3 separate regions of the Homo sapiens genome follow, and all the other regions are linked to region 1. The links are contacts of gene promoters, found by promoter capture Hi-C in blood cells and fetal thymus (Javierre and others, 2016). All regions are on one chromosome and are shown on one strand. The core of a region is centred on a gene start or on the middle of the fragment in contact, and the rest is flanking DNA. Distances in the headings are between cores, read along the strand shown.

What was found. Contacts are between HindIII fragments. The CHiCAGO score rates a contact against its expected background, and 5 or more counts as called.
Region 2: a fragment that was not itself captured here is called in contact with the fragment with the promoter of CCDC174 in region 1 in 9 of 17 cell types (total CD4 T cells, non-activated CD4 T cells, naive CD4 T cells and 6 more); the score reaches 18.8 in total CD4 T cells.
Region 3: a fragment that was not itself captured here is called in contact with the fragment with the promoter of CCDC174 in region 1 in 9 of 17 cell types (total B cells, total CD8 T cells, naive CD4 T cells and 6 more); the score reaches 14.7 in total B cells.

What each region holds. Positions count from the first base shown.
Region 1 is chr3:14,649,739-14,653,788 of GRCh38, forward strand. It overlaps CCDC174 (coiled-coil domain containing 174), which reads left to right and starts at 2,024. Exons shown (of 11, transcript NM_016474.5): 1 at 2,024-2,140. The coding sequence starts at 2,099. LOC124909347 (a long non-coding RNA gene) reads right to left here and starts at 2,383. Exons shown (of 2, transcript XR_007095826.1): 1 at 1,931-2,383; 2 at 1-1,488. RefSeq lists enhancers at 1,565-2,223, 1,727-2,126, 2,267-2,336. The HindIII fragment of the contact is 1,793 bases long and covers 1,796-3,588 here.
Region 2 is chr3:12,487,580-12,491,629 of GRCh38, forward strand. It overlaps TSEN2 (tRNA splicing endonuclease subunit 2), which reads left to right. Exons shown (of 12, transcript NM_025265.4): 2 at 2,205-2,410. The coding sequence starts at 2,222. Among named protein-coding and RNA genes, the nearest start is that of TSEN2, 5.1 kb to the left of the region's middle. The HindIII fragment of the contact is 5,707 bases long and covers 1-4,050 here.
Region 3 is chr3:12,551,891-12,555,940 of GRCh38, forward strand. It overlaps a transcript of MKRN2OS not described here. Among named protein-coding and RNA genes, the nearest start is that of MKRN2, 3.2 kb to the right of the region's middle. The HindIII fragment of the contact is 1,633 bases long and covers 435-2,067 here.

The DNA.
Region 1 (4,050 bases), core at 774-3,273:
ACTGAGCCTCATTTTTTTTCCTTTTAAAAAAAATTATTATTAATACCTTTTAATGTTTCACATTTTCTTTCAGAAGATTTGTAACAAAAACACATGGAATTTAGTATGTGTTTCAGTAAAATGGGTAAATACAGAATCTGAACAAGACAAGTCTATAAGGTATAATCCTTCTTGTGGGGACAGAACATTCCACTCCATTAAGAAAAGAGAATCACAACATTATTAGGCCCGATTATCTCATATTGCTTACTGTTCTAATTTCAGAGACTGGCGGACTTGGAGAAATAAACAAATGAAAATAAATAAATAAGACTGAACACAGTCAACTGCCTCAATTCCCCTCTCCTTTTCCCTTTTCCCATTTTCTCCATAAAGACAGATGAGATGAGGATGTGATGAGTCTCATTTTTCTTCTCTCTAATATGGTGGATAATAGGTCCGCTTCTAGGATTCTTGCAAGGATTATATAATATAATCTATGCAAAGAGTCATACACATGCCCCACATATACTAAATGCCACTGTTACAATCATTATGATCACTTTCGTCTTGCTGCTGTAACAAATTGCCACAAGTTTGGTGGCTTAAAACAACACAAACGTATTCTGGTAGAGTTCTGGAAGTCAGAAGTTTGAGATGAGTGTTACAAGACTAAAATCACCGTGTCAGCAATGCTGCATTCCTTCTGGAGACTCTGGAGGAGGGCTCATTTCTTTGCTTTTTCTAGCGGCCTCCTGCATACCTAGGCATGTGGTCCCACTCTCCCTCTTCAAAGCATCTCTGATCTCTGTCTGACTCTGGCCATCCTGTCTACCCCTTATAAGGATGGTTTTGATGATAGGGGACCCACCTGCACAATCCAGGCTAGCTCCCCATCTCAATCGCTTTAATTTCATCATCTCTGCCAATTCTCTTTTGCTATATAAAGGTCACCATATACCCAGATTCTGGGGATTAGAAGGTAGACATCTGGGAGTCGGGGTGAGGGTGATTGGTCTGTCTACCATAATCATTAACATTTTTATCAAGACTAGCTCATTTAACTCATCTAATCCTCACTAAGACCCATTAGGTAAATAAAATTATATCCCCCTTTGGAAACTGAGGCACACGGAAGTTAAGTAACTTGCCCAAGGTCACACAAGCAGTAAGCCGTGAAGAGCGATTCCAACCCAGAAAGTCAGCTTTCGAGTTCACGTGTTCTTTGTTTTTTTTTTTTTTGATCTCGACTCACTGCAACCTCCACCTCCCAGGTTCAAGCGATTCTTCTGCCTCAGCCTCCTGAGTAGCTGGGAATACAGGCGCGCACCACCACGCTCGGCTAATTTTTTTTTTTTCTTGTATTTTCAGCAGAGACGGGGTTTCACCATGTTGGTCAGGCTGGTCTCAAACTCCTGACCTCCTGATCCACCCGCCTCAGCCTCCCAAAGTGCTGGGATTACAGGCGTGAGCCACCGCGCCCGGCCCAGGAGTTCACGTTCTTAAGAGCTGAAATATGTAAAGTGGCCCATAATAAGCACTACATTAATGTTAGCTATTATTCTTGTTATTTCTACTAAGATTAATATAATAATCCTTATCTCGTACGCTCTTTTAAGAACCAACTATTTAACGTGTGAAAAGTGCCAGGCAGCAGGTCCTGGAATTGCAGTTAAGATTCTTCCGGTCCTCCCAATCCACCTTTCCCGAGACGCTCGAGTTCACTTACTTAAGCGTCAGCCTTCCCCAAGATGGCGTTATCTTTGTCGCCAACCCCACATCCGCCCCACCCAATATGGCGTCCATCGCAATCAAAAGCTTTATTCCGCCCTTCTCAAGATGGCGCCCACACCAATCCTTGTTACCTTCCGCCCTCAAGATGACCTTAGCAGTTAGCGTCAACCTCCGCACTCTATGACCTTTCCAAAATGATGGTGAACGTAATACGCACCACACTCTGACCTTCTCAAGATGGCGCTGAGCTGACAAACTCGCGTCGCAAACTCACGCAAACTCAGTGTCGCTGTCGAAGACACTTCCGGTTGCGACGGAGGTAGGCTTACGAGGCCTGTGTCGGGTAGAAAGGGTCCTTCCTGGACCGGGACCCTCTGCCACGACCATGGACCGTAGGAAAAAGCCTTTGGACGTCACGGCCTCCTCGGTGAGTGAGGGTATGAGGTAACTCCACGGGCTCCGGGTTCACCGTGTCTCCATCAGACAAGAATGTCGACCTAGCTTGTTTCTTCACTCGGGGACCCAGAGACCTGACCTCTCCCCTCAAACAGGAACCCCCGAACTGGATTTTCTTCTCCGGCGGGGATCCGGTTCAGTTTTCTTACAGGACCCTGAATTGGGCTACTCTCCTCTGACATGCGCCCGGGCCAGAACCCTCGGACACGGATCTGAACCTGGTGTCCCGTGGGTTAGGAAACTCCGTGCCTCACCTCTGCCCTGCCCACAAGGACCTGCACCTCGTCAGCCTTCTCCCTTACAGTCAGGAGGAACCCTAGCTTCTTTTTGCTATGCAGACATATCCTCTTCCTGGTTTCTCCTCCATCCAGGGACCCACAAAGTCCTCCCAGAACTTTAGAGTGTGACATATTTCGCAGGACCCGAAAGTGTCCAGCGTGCCCTCCCTGGAACTAAACAGTTGTTAATGCAGGCATAGGGAGTTGTGAGGTCTGAAAGGATGTAAGCAGATTTATTACATCAGCTACTCTAGAAAGAAAACTTGTTCTAAGTACACATTTTGTGCCAGCACTTTATATGCACTATCTCATTGAATCCTCCCAATGGCTTTAGGAGGTAGGTGCTATTAATATCTCCGTTTTATGGATGATGAAATTGAGGCCTGGAAAGATGAAGTAGCTTTCCCCAGCTTACAGACAGAAATCTTAGTGATAGCCGGGCGCGGTGACTCACGCCTGTAATCCCAACACTTTGGGAGGCTGAGGCGGGCAGATCACCTGAGGTCGGGAGTTTGAGACCAGTCTGACCAACATGGAGAAACCCCGTCTCTACTAAAAATAAAAAAATTAGCCGGGCGTGGTGGTGCACGCCTGTAATCCCAGCTACTCGGGAAGCTGAGGCAGGAGAATCGCTTGAACCGGGGAGGCGGAGGTTGCGGTGAGCCGAGATCGCGCAATTGCACTCCAACCTGGGCAACAAGAGCGAAACTCCGTCTAAGGGGCGGGGGGCGGGGGGAAGAAATCTTAGTGATAGACCCTTTCTCACTCACTCTACTTGACTCCAAAGCTGCTGCCTTTTCATCATCAGAGCAAATTGCCCAACCTTTGATTTAATCTTGAATTTACTTCAGAGTATTAGGACACAAAGTGAGTAGGAAGGAAAACATATAGGTGTCCCAATATTTGAGTACTAGTTATTATTGGTAACTATTATTGGTTAAAATTGGTACCAGTTATTATTTTGTTTGAAGATCAGGAACCAGAAAGCTATAAATATTAAAGCCAACCTATACTGACAGGTTAGCAGTAATTGTAATAAGAATGCTATTTGAGAATTTACATTTTTTTGAGCATCTCTTAAAGTTAAAGGCAGTTGTAGACTAGGAAGATATGTGGCTGGAAAATTTGGTGTGGTTAAGTAAGCTTAGAAGAAAAAGTAGAAGTTTTTCATTTGTTTTTAAAAATTTCCAGTATTAGGGTCTGCAGTGAAACTGCCCTTTGCATTATTAAATGGTTACCTTTTAAATCGATTTCTTCCAAAACGGAAATTGAACCCAGCCATTTTTATCTTCCTTAACAAATAAAGTGATTTTTTTAAGTATCTGATGATTAAGACAGTGATGAAGTATCTGATTTACAAATGCCCATCCATATAAGCAGCTGTACCTGGACCATTAAAAAGGAAACTGTTGTTATATCCTTTTTTGCAGAGTAGGCAGGGGTAATTAATGTAGCTGAGGGAAAGGTACTAATATTCACCCAACTGCCCCACTCCCTATGCCTTGGCCTTCTTTCCTGTTCTTGAACCGTGTGATTCAGCCAAGCTTACGGTTTTTGAAATGGATTAAGTCAAACGTGGAGCTGTTATAATTCACCCAGTCTA
Region 2 (4,050 bases), core at 492-2,991, 2.2 Mb before region 1:
GTCCAAACCATTCCTGGAAGTCTTTCAAAAAGTGCCTTACTAGAGACCAACATCCTGCCCCCAAAAAGCAGTGTTTATTTTCAGTTTTAGAATAAATTATTGTCTCTCCAATTGAGTACTAAATGTGATAATTTAGTACTTGGGCTGAGGGATAAGTCAGCAAGCAAGGTAAAGCCTAGTCTAAATATGCTCTTAAGAAAATCTCTTAGGTTTCCTGTGAGCATGCAGTAGACGTGGTTTTGTTATAAACACTATACAGCAAGATGCATGCATAAATATAAAATGTACAAAGTAATGCTCAGTATGTAATTCCTTCAAGGAACCTTATTTAGAAATTAATCTAGCATGTTGCTGCTTAGAACAATGGCAATTCTAGGAAGGTTCCAACTTCCCGATTCTTCTTTTTCATGGTTATCTTTGTAATTGATGTATCATTTCCTCTAACTCCTCTTTAGTCTGTGTTTTTCTGTGTCCTCATATAATTCCTCAGCTTCTTCCTTGAGAAGTTGGATACTGATATCATCACACGTTGGATAAGCCTTTTCTTAATGGTCATGACACTCTTAAAGCCACTCACCTTCCCCTCCCTCAGTTTTGGCCACCTTCTTGACTGTTTCAGGCTTGATGGCATCCCTTGCCAATGGGATGCAAGTACTGAGTGCAGGAGCCACCTAAGTAATTAGTCTTATTTTTTCCCTTGTGAGGATTCGGAGTCATGTAGGTTAAACGTGTGTATGATTTGGCCGCACTGTATCTTCAAGCACCAGGTAAGCTCTCAGTTGAAATCAAGTCTAGACCTAGTACTGGGGGAGCAGCAGATTCAAGTTTCCCATCTCATTCCAGGACAGCTGCTCCTCGAGTGGAATGTCTTGCACCATTTACATTGTTTTCCCATGTATATGGTTACGTTTTCCTAGGTTAAGTGCATCTACTGTATCTCTGTGTCTGCATCACACAATATGTTCACATTTACTTCCCTCCTTTAGACATTAGTGGATAACAGCCAGTTCCGTTAGCTCCAACCTGCTTTCTGTGCTTCCAGCTATGTTATATACTTGTTTTGTCTCCTTGGATCCAATGTATGGCCCCAGAGGGACACGTACTGGCTTTGGCTTTCTGTTCTCCCTCATGGTGCTGGGTGCACAGTGGGTAATTCCGTTACTGCTCAATAACCCTTCACCGTCTGATTTTGAGAAAGAGTCATCAGACAAAAGTAGATAGACCCTGCCTGTGCTTTCAGCAGAATCTAGAGAGAGGGCATGGGCTTGGGAGTTCAACAGACCTGGGTCACCCGATGCCACCACACTCGGGGTCGTCTACAAATCTCTCTAACCTGAATCTGTTTCCTATTTGTAAAATGGTGTTGCTACTGCTCACCCTGTAATACTAATTATAGCTGATACATGAATGGTACACGCTATGTGCCAGGTACTGTTCTAAGCACTTTATGGATCTTAACTGTAAGATAGAGTCGTTCTTATCTTGATTTTGCAGGTGAGGAAACTAAATCACAGAGAGAGTCAGTGACTTTTGCCCAAAATCACACTGCTAGGAAGTGGTAAAGTTGATTCTGATGCTGATAGTCTGGCTTTAGAGTCCCTGCTTGAAGCCAGTAGCATTTGGTAGTATATAATCGACCCTTAAATAACTGCTGCTGTCATTATTATTTATTAATGTACTTTAAAAATTGGGAGCTGATTGACCCAATGTTTAGTGTGTATTGTAAGATCCTCTTGGAAAATGAAGTGCCTGCAAGATTTAATTTGTTGAGGACAGGGTCTCAGTTTTGTCTTTGTCTCCCCAGCACCTATGATTATTAGGAATTCCTGGTAGTAAATGTCTGTTGGGTGAGTGAAATGGAAGCACTCCTGGTAGACAGAAATCCTGTTGTGCTTGCTCTCAGGAGACCTAACATTGCAGCTTTGGGCATGTCACTAGGTCTCAGCGTTGTCAGCTGGAGTAGAAAGATTACCACTCATTTCCTGGGGTTTATTGTGGGGATTAATTGCAGTATTCTAGGTCAATATGATTTACATTGCTCACACAAACTGTTCTTACTGCTTTTAGTTTATTGCTTTATAAATACTCTATTTCTTCCCACAGACCACTAAGTTTTCTGAGCCTAGGTACAGATGTACTCACATTTTGGATCAAGGTAGTTATTGATTGTCTGTTTCTTTCTGTTTGTTGTCTACTCTTTAAAGAATACCTCCTCTGAAAAATGGCAGAAGCAGTTTTCCATGCCCCAAAGAGGAAAAGAAGAGTGTATGAGACTTACGAGTCTCCATTGCCAATCCCTTTTGGTCAGGACCATGGTCCTCTGAAAGAATTCAAGATATTCCGTGCTGAAATGATTAACAACAATGTGATTGTGAGGAATGCGGAGGACATTGAGCAGCTCTATGGGAAAGTAAGTGCAGGCAGCCTTGGTAAGATTACTTTCAGACAACCCTGAGCAAGCAGTCCTTTCCTTCTCCCCATCCCAGCCATACCCCCACACCAACCATGAACAATGTGTATTCTTTCCTTGCGGTTTGGTCCAGTTGTAGGAAAAGTACAATTTGAATTAGTGCCCAAAAGCCATATGTTAGGGTAATAGAATGACAGATGGAGCACCCCTGCCCACAAACCTTTATTTCAGTGATGAAGTAGGTTCAATGGATTGACTATTTTTTTTGTCTTTAGTTGTAAAAGCAATGCATGTTTGTTAAAGGAACAAAAAAAGTAATTTACAGAAATGTAATGGGTAAAAAAGTGAAAATTCCCCACTCACTCCCATCCCGTTCCCAGAGGTAGCCACAGCGTGGCATAGTGTCCCTACTCAGGCACGGATCAGATGGGGCTTTGGCATGGAGCTCCTTATCTGCTGCCTCCTGGTTGGGGACCTCTTCTCAGATGAGGACAAGTTCTAGTTTTTACTGTTTTCCAGCATTGATCAAGTTGAATGAAGACTGGTAGTTCTTTAAAAAAAATTTTCCATAATCTGTTCATTGCTGTGGGCATTTTTAAAAAACAGCTTTATTGAGTTATAATTTACAACTATAAAGTCCTCCCATTGTAAGTATACAATTCAGTGATTGTCATAAATTTATAGAGTTGCACAACTCTCACCACAGTCCAGTTTTAGAACATTCCCATCACCACAGAGTTCCCTTGTGCCCATCACACTTAATCCCTGCTCCCACTCCCGGCCCAAGGCAGCCACGGAATGGCGTCTTGTCTCCATAAATGTGCCTTCTCTAGACACTTGATAGAAGAGTGGGTGGCACTGGCCATGGTGAGGCAGGAGTCTCAGTAGGCCAAGGGCAGCTCACCAGGGAGGCCTTCATTTACAGTATATAACATTAAGCAAGAGGCTTTATAAAGTGCTGTATGCATTATTTATTCTTGGTTTTTGTTGTTGCTGGGTGTTTTTTTTGTTTGTTTTTTGTGACAGAGTCTTACCCTGTCACCCAGACTAGGGTGCAGTGGCATGATCTCAGCTCACTGCAACCTCTACCTCCCAGGTTCAAGTGATTCTACCACCTCAGCCTCCCGAGTAGTTGGGACTACAGGCGCATGCCACCATGCCTGGCTAATTTTTGTATTTTTTGGTAGAGACAGGGTTTCACCATGTTGGCCAGGCTGGTCTTGAACCCCTGACCTCAAGTGATCTGCCCACCTCGGCCTCCCAAAGTGCCGGGATTACAGGTGTGAGCCACCATACCTGGCCTCTTTATTCTGATTGTTAATCTAAATGGAGAAAGGGGTGTTTGTTTTATTCTTTCAATTTTCTGTGTGTTTAAATATTTTGTAATGAAAAGGGGAAAAATACATGTTGTTTTTGGAATCAGCAGGAATGAGAGGAATACTTCAATTCTGGAGTACAAAAGAATCCAAGAGGTTTTTTTGGACCTAGTGGGCAGCATGGCTCCTGCCTTCAGGCACACTGTGTTCCCGAACCATATGTAGAGAAGAAACTCTGCCTCTGCCTGCCCTCGGCTTATCAGACCTAGACTGAAAGCATTAGTTATGGGATAAATGAGGTGTGCTAAAAACTTACTAGTACTC
Region 3 (4,050 bases), core at 1-2,500, 2.1 Mb before region 1:
GAGATCACACCATTGCACTCCAGCCTGGGAGACAGAGTGAGACTCTGTCTCAGAAAAAAGAAAAAAAAATCAAGATGATACATTTAAATCCAGCTATATTACATTTAGTGTAAATGGACTAAATGCTCCGATACAAAAAACAAAGAAGGCTGGGCACGGTGGCTCACGCCTGTAATCCCAGCACTTTGGGAGGCCGAGGCAGGTGAATCACCAAGTCAGGAGTTCAAGACCAGCCTGGCCAAGATAGTGAAACCCTGTCTCTACTAAAAATACAAAAAATTAGCTGGGCGGGGTGGTGGGCGCCTGTAATCCCAGCTACTTGGAAGGCTGAAGCAGAGAATTGCTTGAACCCTGGAGGCGGAGGTTGCAGTGAGCTGAGATCGTGCCGCTGCACTTCAGCCTGAACAACAGAACAAGACCATCTCAAAAAAAAAAGCTTTCCAAAACTCCCATAAAACAATGAAATCTGAATAGCTTTATATATAAGAAAGCAATTAGATATTTTAATTTTTTTTAATTTTTAATTTTTTTTTTTTTTTAAGACGGAGTCTCACTCTGTCGTCCAGGCTGGAGTGCAATGGCGCCATCTCAGCTCACCAAAACCTCTGCCTCCCGGGTTCAAGCGATTCTCCTGCCTCAGCCTCCCGAGTAGCTGGGATTACAGGCATGCACCACCACACCTGAATAATTTTGTATCTTTAGTAGGGTCGGGGTTTCTCCATGTTGGCCAGGTTGGTCTTGAACTCCTGACCTCAGGTGATTTGCTCACCTGGGCCTCCCAAAGTGCTAGGATTACAGGTGTGAGCCACCATGCCCCACATTTAAATCTTTAATTAAAAATCATCCTGCAGGCTGGGCATGGTGGCTCATGCCTGTAATCCTAGCACTTTGGGAGGCCAAGGTGAGCAAATTTCTTGAGCTCAGGAGTTTGAAACCAGCCTGGGCAACATAGTGAGATCTCCTGTCTACAAAAAATACAAAAATTGGCCAGGAGTGGTGGAGCATGCCTGGCGCACACCTGTAGCCCCAGCTACTTGAGGGGCTGAAACCAGGAGGTGGAGGTTGCAGTGAGCCAAGATCACACCACGGCACTCCAGCCTGGGTGACAAAGTGAGACCCGGTCTCCAAAAAAAAAAAAAAAAAAAAAATCTTCCTGCACAGTAAACTGCAGGCTGAGATGGCTTCCATGGTAAATTCTTCCAGATGTTTAAGGGAAAAATTAATACCCATATTACACAGACTTTTCCAGAGGATAGAAAAGAAAGACTTCCAAACTCATTTTATGAGACCAGCATATCCCAGATACCAGCACCTGGCATGGACATTATAAGAAAGGAACACTACAGACTAATATCTCTCATACACAAGGATGCAAAAATTCTAAACACAATTTTAACAAATAGATGATTTATAGAAAATATATCATGGCCATGTGGGGTTTATCCTGAGCAATTGGGTAGGGTTAACATTAAAAATCAATCAGTATAATTCAATACATTACCAGTATAAAAGGGAAAAACAATATAGGTTTCTCAATACATGCAAAAAAAAAAGTGATAAAAGTCAAGATGTGTTCATGGTAAAAATGCTAATAAAACTAGAAAGAAACTTTCTTAATTTGGCAATGGATAGCCTAAAAAAATCTAGGGCTAACATTTTAATTAAAATATTAAATAATTTTAAAGTAAAATATTAAATATTTTTATTGAATCCAGGAACAAAATAAGATGTACACTATTACTACTTCTCTTTAACATTGTTCTGAAGGCTGTAGACAGTGCATGCAATAAGGCAAGGAAAAGAAATAAAAGATACAAAGATGAAAAGGAAGCAAAACTGTCATTATTTGCTGATGGCGTGATTGTGTATAGAAAATCGATAACTAACTACAAATAAACCATTAGAATTAATTCAAAATTTAGCATGGAGCTGAATCCCAAGTCAGTATACAAAGATCCAGTGTATTTCTATATATAAGCAACAAGCAATTCGGAAATTTTAGGAATATCATTTAAAATAGCATCGAAAACCGCTTCTAGGGGCAGGTCGGCACACAAAGAAAACGAAAGCTTTGCAAGACCCTCGGCGCACGTCTGCGCAAAGGGTCTCTGTGTCTCTACGCCCAGATGGCCATTTTGAGTCCCGAGCTGGCAGCCACCCTTCTCTTCTGTTTTCTCAGCTTCTTCACCCGCTTCTATCTGATAGCCTTTTTCTCCCGAGTGTTTGGTAGCAAAGTTGCTTTTCCTAAGGGGCGAGAACGGGAGCTGGTGGTTAGCAAGCAGACGCAGTTTTACGCGCCCCTGCTACGGGCAGGAGCGAGTGGCCCTGCCTTCTCTGCCAGCGCGGGTTCCCTGGGGGTGAGGAAAGTGAGTTCCACGTCCCGGGTGGGGCAGGACTTGGTGTTTAGTGCCCAGCGCCAGATAACGCCGGAAGAACCCCAAGTGGAGACTGCTTGCATCCTTCGGGAAAAGTCTAAGTGCTAAGTACCATGACAGTGGCAGGAACCAAGCTGTTGGGTACAGCTTGTGGAAGTGCACACTGGCTGTCGTTGATCCAGTGTTGTATTATTTTTTCATAAATATATATGAAATATATGAAATATATATGAAATATAAAAATATATATATATATTGCCCATGACACAGACCTCAGGAGATCCTGAGAACATGTGCCCGATCCAGTGTTTTATTTGCACAGACACCCTAAAGGGCACCAGCAGTACAAGGCTGATGAAATAACTTATGGCATAGTCGTACAACGGAATACTATACAGTTCTACGAAAGGAGGAAGAGGCTCTATGTACTGATATGGAAAAATCTCCACTGATTATGTACGCTGTGCAGAACAGTACGTTATGTTATCTTTTCTACAAAAAGGAGAAAATAATATATATGTATTTACTTGTGTATATTTAAAGAAATTCTGGAAAGATGTATACAAATTTGATAACAGTGGCCAGGTTTTGAGGTTTTAAAAAATGTTTCTGCTTTTTGTTTTGAAGAGGCGGGAACTAAATTGACAGGAGACTGAGACTTTTCACTTTACGCTTTTAAAATATTTGAACATAATAACGTTCAGATCGTGAATGTATTCCATAAAGAATGAGATAAGCTGAATTTTAAAAATAAGTGGCATGGGCTGGGCGCGGTGGCTCTCGCCCGTAATCCCAGCACTTTGGGAGGCCGAGGCGGGTGGATTGCCTGAGCTCAGAAGTTCGAGACCAGCCTGGGCAACAGGGTGAAACCCCGTCGCTACTAAAACACAAAAAATCAGCTGGGCGTGGCAGCGTGCGCCTGTATAATCCCAGCTACTCCGGAGGCTGAGACAGGAGAATCGCTTGAACACGGGAGGTGGAGGTTGCAGTGAGCCAAGAGCATGCCACTGCACTCCAGCCTGGGTGACAGAGCAAGACTCCGTCTCAAAAAAAAAAAAAAAAAAGACGTGTAATTTTTATGAGCATGAATTGCATGGATCAAATGTGTTATGAGTTAAAATGCAATATTCAAGACACTGAAAACAAAATTTCCAGTATACTTCCAAATTCCTGAGAAAAATTTCAAAAGTTCTAAATAATTGGAAGTATATACCATGCTCATTCATTGGAAGACTCAATATTTTTATAGCAAAGTAAAAAAAGAACATACAGCTATACATACATAACATGGAAAGATCTCACAGATAAAATGTTGGTCAAAAGAAGGCAGACAAAAGCGTAGGTACTGAATTATTATTTATATGAAAGTCAAGAACAGTTAAACTAATTTATAGTGATAGAGATGAACCCAAGCAATGACCTTTGTAAAGTATTGCCTGGGAAGGACCATAAGGAAGCCCTTCTGGGGTGTCGATAATATCCAGCCCCCACCCACCCCCTGCAGCCTCGACTGCAGTGAACTATGCTCAAAGGATCCTTCCGGCTCAACCTCTCCTTACTCCAGCATTTTGAAGTTTAGTCGAGCATGGTGTCGCGCACCTGTATTCCCAGCTGCTGGGGAGGTTAAGGCAGAGGACTGCTTGAACTATGATGGCGCCACTGCACTCCAGCCTGG